Regions from separate parts of the Homo sapiens genome. Here region 2 is linked to region 1. Evidence: promoter capture Hi-C in human tissues and cell types (Jung and others, 2019). All regions are on one chromosome and are shown on one strand. The core of a region is centred on a gene start or on the middle of the fragment in contact, and the rest is flanking DNA. Distances in the headings are between cores, read along the strand shown. Region 1 holds the start of KCTD17 (potassium channel tetramerization domain containing 17). Region 2 overlaps IL2RB (interleukin 2 receptor subunit beta).

Region 1 (3,230 bases), core at 90-2,589:
TCGGTGAGAGAAGAGTGAGGCTTCTCCCCAGCCAACCCCGCACACGCACAGGGAGGGAAGGAGAGTGGAGGGAGAGCTCTTCCCTGGATGGAGCAGGCACAAAGTAGCAAAAAGGCACTGGGGTCAGATGGACCTGAGTTCAAGCCCTGCTTCTGACTCTTCCTGAATGTGTGACCTTAGGCTAATGATTTGGCCTCTTTGAAACTCACTCCTCTCCCCCTAATCAGGGTTTGCTGTGAGCATCCGGTGAGAGGATGTCTGAGTGGCAACTGGCCCAGCACAGGGCTCGAAGAATGTCCCTCTGAGAGGCTGTCCCCTGAAGCCAGCCCCACTGTCGCCCCCAGGTCCCTAGGCTTTCAGGGGATGTTTACAAGTTTCCAAAGGAGTCACTATCTCACTGGACACTCGGGCGGGCAGGGAGGCAGGGTGGGCTTCCATGCGACTCTACAGAGAGATCGGAGACATTGAGAGGTGAGGCGACTTGCCAAAGGCCACAGCATCGGAGGGTCACGGATGGGGGACAGGAGACCTTAGAGGTCATCTTCAGACCAGCCCTTCGTGTTACAGATGAGGAAGGAGGCTGAGCGCAGTGCAGGGAAGGGTCCGACTCAAGGTCGCGGCAGGCAGTGTGCAGCAGAGTCAGGGTGGGTGCTCAGAAATAGTGCCCGCTGGGCCAACGCTCCTTCTAGATTCAGCCCGCTCAGAAGGCGCCCCAGGGCTCCTCCATCCAGCTAGCTCCCTGCACCCCTCCGCCACCCACATCCCAAAGAGCGGGAGAAGTAGCCTCGTCGACTCCTTCCCCAGAGCAGGAGTCCCCTTTGGGAGGGAGGAAAGGTCCCAGGTCTCTCCCTGTCCACAGCCCCAAAGGAGAAGGAGAGGCCCCGATCCGGGGCGGCTGGAGAGCTTCTAATGGCCGCGGCCTGCGTCGTCCCGTTGCCACGGCAATGGGTACATCCCTCACTACCAGACCCACCTCCCCCTCCCCTCCTCCTGCCGCTTCTTCCCGCCTCCAGTTCCTCGGAAATGAACCCGGCCGGGTCCCCAGCCTGGCGGGCGAGCCAGGCCCGACAGCCCCGCGTCGGGCGAGCGGAGGACCCACCGCCCGCTCGCCGCCCACCCCGGGGGCCTCACCCGGTCCGACTGCAGCTCTTCCCCCTGGCACAGGCGGCTGAGGAAGGACTTCTGCTCGCGGCACAGCGTCTGCCGGGTGGTCAGGAACACCGTGCCCCCCACGTTGAGCCGCACCCACTTGCCCCAGCCGCCTGCGGCGCGGCCGCCCGCCCCCGCCGGCGGCGCTGCCTCCCCGGCCTCCATCCTCATCGCCGGCCGCGGCGTCTGCATCCTCCTCCCGGGCGCTGGGGGCGGGCGGGGACCGCACGCGGGGCAGGCCGGGAGCTGTAGTCCGCGCCTCCTGGCTCCGCGTGGGCCGCGGGTAGGGTCCCGCCCCGCGCTGCTCCCGCCCCCGGTCCCGCCCCGCTTCGCCCTTCCCCGCAGGCCCGCAGTCTGGGGTGGTGAAGATGCCCTCTGGCCAAATCACTGTGTATGGGGAAGGTCGAACTCCCGGCCTCTGGGAAAAGAATGAGGGCTTCCCCAAATCTGCAGTCATCCCATGGGTCCGAGCATTCTTGTTTTTCCTTTGTGCCGTCTCCGTCGTCCAACAGCTGATAAGGGAAGAAACTTTCCCCTCCAGGAATCCCCATAGCATTGACCCGCATGTGTTTCGTCATATTTTTTCATTTGCCCTTTGTGTGTATAGGGGTGGGGGCGGGGTGGGTGGGAGTGGGTTCTTTCCCTCACCTGAGTTCTTGGAGAACGACATAGCTGGACTTGAGGTTGGCTGAGCACCTGTATGCCAGACACTTTGTGTATATGTGTTATGAATTTAAGCTCTCAGCAGCCCTGTGAGTCTGGTATTTTGGGCTATACCCATTTTACAGATGAAGCCACAGAAGCGAAGTGACCGCCCTACTCACATTGCTGGTGAGTGAGTACCCACCAAGGTCTCTTTCCTGCTCCCTGACCATGGAATGTCAGGGATCCTTGGGAAAGACTTCTAAGGAGGAAGAGTAGAGCACGCCCTGGATCCGAGTCAGGAGAACTGAGTTTCCATTCTGGCTTTTGGCCTTTCTCAGTTTTTCCACGTCCTCCCTAAGAAGGAGGAGGGATTGGTTCTGCGGGTGGCTTTCTGAGTTATTCCCCAGTTAACTCGGAGGGGAACCGTCATTCTGTGGACCTCAGGATGGGGGAAGGGAGCAGTTCCTCATGTGGTCCGGGACCAGGGAGGGACAAGGGCTGACGAGGAAGCTGTCTCCTTAGCTTCCTCTCCTTACTGGTTTCAGTCCTGGTCCTGGCCTATGGGGGAGAGGTCTGGGGCTCCTCTCACTGATCCAATGTCACACGCAGCTGGCCCGAACACTGGGCAGCCTGGCCCTGTGCTGGGAGAAGTTTCCCTGTTACCACCCAATGCCCTGCTTTCTGCATAAAGCTTTTCTCCTTGGCAGGGAGTGGATCAAAGGTGTACTGGAATCCTGCTACTTAAAATTCACTAGGTGTGTCCTGAGCAACTTCCTCTCTGAGATTGGCTTTCTCTCTTGCCAAATGGGATTTACAACAGTTGTGACCCCAGAGCATTGCTGTGAAGATTAAGTTATGAAATGTCTATAAACATCTAGCGTAGGCTGGGTGCGGTGGCTCACACCTGTAATCCCAGCACTTTGGGAGGCCAAGGCTCGCTTGAGCATAGAAGTTCAAGACCAGCCTGGACAGCATAGTGAGACCCCTATCTCTCTCTCTCTCTCTCTCTCTCTCTCTCTCTCTCTCTTTTTCTTTTTTGAGATACAGTCTCACTCTCTCACCCAGACTGGAGTGCAGTGGCACCATCTCAGCTCACTGCAACCTCTGCCTTCTGGGTTCAAGCAATTCTCATGCCTCAGCCTCCTGAGTAGCTGGGATGACAGGCATGCACCACCACGCCTGGCTAATTTTTGTATTTTTAGTAGAGATAGGGTTTCACCACGTTGGCCAGGCTGGTTTTGAACTCCTGAGCTCAAGTGATCCTCCTACTTTGGCCTCCCAAAGTGCTGGGATTACAGGTGCGAGCCACTGCGCCTGGCCCCCATCTCTATTTTAAAAAAATAAAACGATAGAAAACCAAAAAACAGCCGGTGGCTCACGCCTGTAATCCTAGCATTTTGGGAGGCCGAGGCAGGCAGATCACAAGGTCAGGAGTT
Region 2 (3,199 bases), core at 254-2,753, 81 kb before region 1:
TGAGTGCTGACTGTATCAGGAGCAGAAAACAGGGAGGGGAAACTTGGCTGGGGCGTGGCCAGGGCTGGTTTCCCTGAGGAAGGGATGATTCTGTTGAAATCTGTAGTGGGAGCCCATGGGGGGTGTGGAGGGGATGGGGAGAGTGTCCCAGGCAGAGGAAACAGCATGTGCAAAGGCCCTGGGCAGGCAGGAGGGAAGAAACTTCCAGGAACAGAGTGCAGGGGCGCTGGTGTGGCTGGAGACAGAAGTGGGTGGGGCAGGAGGCTGAACTTGAGCCTGGGCCTGTGGCGGCAGTGATGCTTCCTGGGGCCTCAGGCTGTGGTGAGGACCTGGGCCGTGTGCCGAGCAGTCATGGAGGGTTTCCCCAGAAGTGGGACAGGATCCACTTCGCCCTCTGTAGCCCTGGCTGCTGTGTGGAGCGTGGCCTGGTGGAGGGCAAAGCGGTGAGGAGGTGACACTTCTGACCGGGGGTTGTGGCCCCCTGATGAGAGCCCTGCTTCTCCCAAGAGGTTTGCAAAGCGTGCCTAGCTGTGTCACCTCACTCGACTTTCCCCAGCACTGGGAAGGCAGTGAGTCAGGGGCTACCATTGCCTTTTAACTGATGCCAGGACTGGCCAGAGAAGTCAGCTGACTTGCCCAAGGTCACATAGCCAGTTAGGAGTGACTGCCGCTCTCCTGACCCTCGTCCTGGAGCAGTGGTTCTCGGCAGTGTTCGGAGCCCCGTTTCCTCTTTCCTCCCAAGAAGACAAGCATTCCTCCACCCACCCGTCCCCTCCGCCCACAGCTCCCTGCAGGCCTTCAGGGAAACCATGTCCCTGTAGAGGGAGAGGTCCTCTCCCAGGCATGGGTTCAGTGGCCTCCAGACTGCCCTCCTCCTTGTCGTTCTTGCGCCCCTTCAGTGCTTTCTCCACCATGTCATTCTCCTGTTTAACACTCTTCAGAGGCCGCTCACTGCGCTGCAGTACACCCTGGCCCTTGAGGGCCTCCACCAGCTGTGTGGAACCTTTGGGCAAATCAAAAATGGTGCCTCTTTCTTCACGGTGATGTACACAGCTTCCAGGCACTCAGCTTAGCAAGCAGAACATGGGCTGGAATTCAGCCTCACTCACCACCACCTTTCCCACTCCCTGCCCAAGCCTAATGCCCTTGGGCAGTGTACAACCTGAACCACCATCCATGGCAGCCCTGACAAGAAAGCCCATCTCCTCTCTCCCGCCTCCTGGTTCATTCCACTTCTTCTAGCCATCTCCGTCCCTGACCACTCTGGCTTGTGTGTTCACCCCCATCGACCCCCACCTCCCCGTCTTGTGTAGCACTGTGCTCTCTGTCTCCACAGAATGAATGGTGATGTTGCAACATGCTTTGTGTCCATCTCCCCATGAGAATGTCAGCTCCTTGAGAGCAGGGACCTCCTTTGTTGGCCATTCTTGTCTCCCCAGTGCCCAACACAGCGTCCTCCCACAGTGAACACTTAGTATCGGCGGAAGAAATACATAAGTAAATGTGGTGCGGCTCCGTGCCTGGCATCCAGAGCTGTGGTGCCGATGGCATAACACCGCGGTCCTTCCCTTTCTCACCCTCCTCCTTCCCTCCTCTCCTCTGTCCAGGCTGAAGAAGGTCCTGAAGTGTAACACCCCAGACCCCTCGAAGTTCTTTTCCCAGCTGAGCTCAGAGCATGGAGGAGACGTCCAGGTAGGAGGCCGGGGCGGGGAGACAGAGGTGGGCAGGGGTGTGAGTGGGATGAGGGGGTGGCAGGTTAGTAGCTAATTTTGTGTTTTGTGAGAGGAGACAAAACGCCGAAGTGAGCAGCCTCCGGGGTGTGCATGGGTCTCTTCTCCAGCTCTGGCACTTTCCATCTGAGCCAGACTGCCTGGGTTCTAATCCCAGCTCCACCACATTCTGGCTGTGTGACCTTGGGCCTATAGAGCCTCCCTGGGCCTCAGTTTCCCCACCTGTTAGATGAGGAGAAAAACAGTGTTACTATGTGTCCTGCCCTGAGTACATTGCCTGGCACGCAGTTAGTGTTCAAAAGAACCCTATCAGGCTGGGTGCAGTGGTTCATGCCTGTAATCCCAGCACTTTGGGAGGCTGTGGCAGGTAGATCACGAGGTCAGGAGTTCGAGACCAGCCTGACCAACATGGTGAAGCCCTGTCTCTACTAAAAATACAAAAATTAGCCGGGCTGGTGGTGCATGCCTGTAATCCCAGCTACTCAGGAGGCTGAGACAGGGGAATCGCTTGAACCCAGGAGGCGGAGGTTACAGTGAGCTGAGATGGCACCACTGCACTCCAGCCTGGGCGACAGAGTGAGACTCCATCTCAAAAAAAAAAAAAAAGTACCCTATCTGGTATTACCGTTGCCGGTGTGCTGAACGAACAGGACCTGCCAGCACAAGCTCTCTCCACCCCACTGTCTGTGCAGACATGCTCTGTGCTTCTCCTGTCCCTGCTCAAAATTCCTGAGCAGGCTCCATAACTTAGCGTGGATACTAACAAGTCTTCCCGTCACTTTGAGTCACAAAACACCGATTCATTTTTAAAGTGCCGGCCCGCAGATCAGTAACGCTCTAAACTCCATCTCAGATTCCGTCGTCTCCTCTTCCCCAGCCCATGCCCCCTTCAGGCAGGAAGCTTCAAGAATGAAGGGGGGACATGGGGGGTACTTTTTACCACCCTAGCCCCACTCTAGGCTCCCAAGATTGGGGGGTGGGGATGAGGTAGGGGCAGAGGGAGGTCAAGAAGAGTGGCGGAGGAGGAAAGCCATGCCGGACCAGAGCTGTCATGACCTGGCTTTGGAGTTCTCTATCAGGGCTGATCAAGGGCCCCTTCTGGAACTCCTTGGAAAACTCCCAAGATGAGAATATCTTAGTTGCAGTGCTTTTATTTATTTATTTATTTATTTATTTTTTGAGATGGAGTCTTGCTCTGTCGTCCAGGCTAGAGTGCAATGGCACGACCTCAGCTCACTGCAAACTCTGCCTCCTGGGTTCAACCGATGCTCCTGCCTCAGTCTCCCGAGTAGCTGGGACTACAAGCACACACCACCACACTTGGCTAATTCTTGTACTTTTAATAGAGACGGGGTTTTGCCATGTTGGCCAGGCTGGTCTTGAACTCCTGATCTCAGGTGATCTGCCCGCCTCGGCCTCCCAAAGTGCTGGGATTACAGGCGTGCGCCACCGTGCCTGGCCATTAGTTG

Evidence for each region. Contacts are between HindIII fragments. The study calls those that stand out against the background at their distance.
Region 2: a fragment that was not itself captured here is called in contact with the fragment with the promoter of KCTD17 in region 1 in 4 of the 25 tissues and cell types used here (IMR-90 fibroblasts, lymphoblastoid cells, spleen and 1 more).

What each region holds. Positions count from the first base shown.
Region 1 is chr22:37,049,851-37,053,080 of GRCh38, reverse strand. KCTD17 (potassium channel tetramerization domain containing 17) reads right to left here and starts at 1,339. Exons shown (of 9, transcript NM_001282684.2): 1 at 1,132-1,339. The coding sequence starts at 1,320. RefSeq lists enhancers at 1-453, 454-1,171 and silencers at 1,108-1,227, 1,238-1,547. The HindIII fragment of the contact is 12,846 bases long and covers 1-3,230 here.
Region 2 is chr22:37,130,877-37,134,075 of GRCh38, reverse strand. It overlaps IL2RB (interleukin 2 receptor subunit beta), which reads left to right. Exons shown (of 10, transcript NM_000878.5): 9 at 1,608-1,692. Among named protein-coding and RNA genes, the nearest start is that of IL2RB, 17 kb to the left of the region's middle. The HindIII fragment of the contact is 9,461 bases long and covers 1-3,199 here.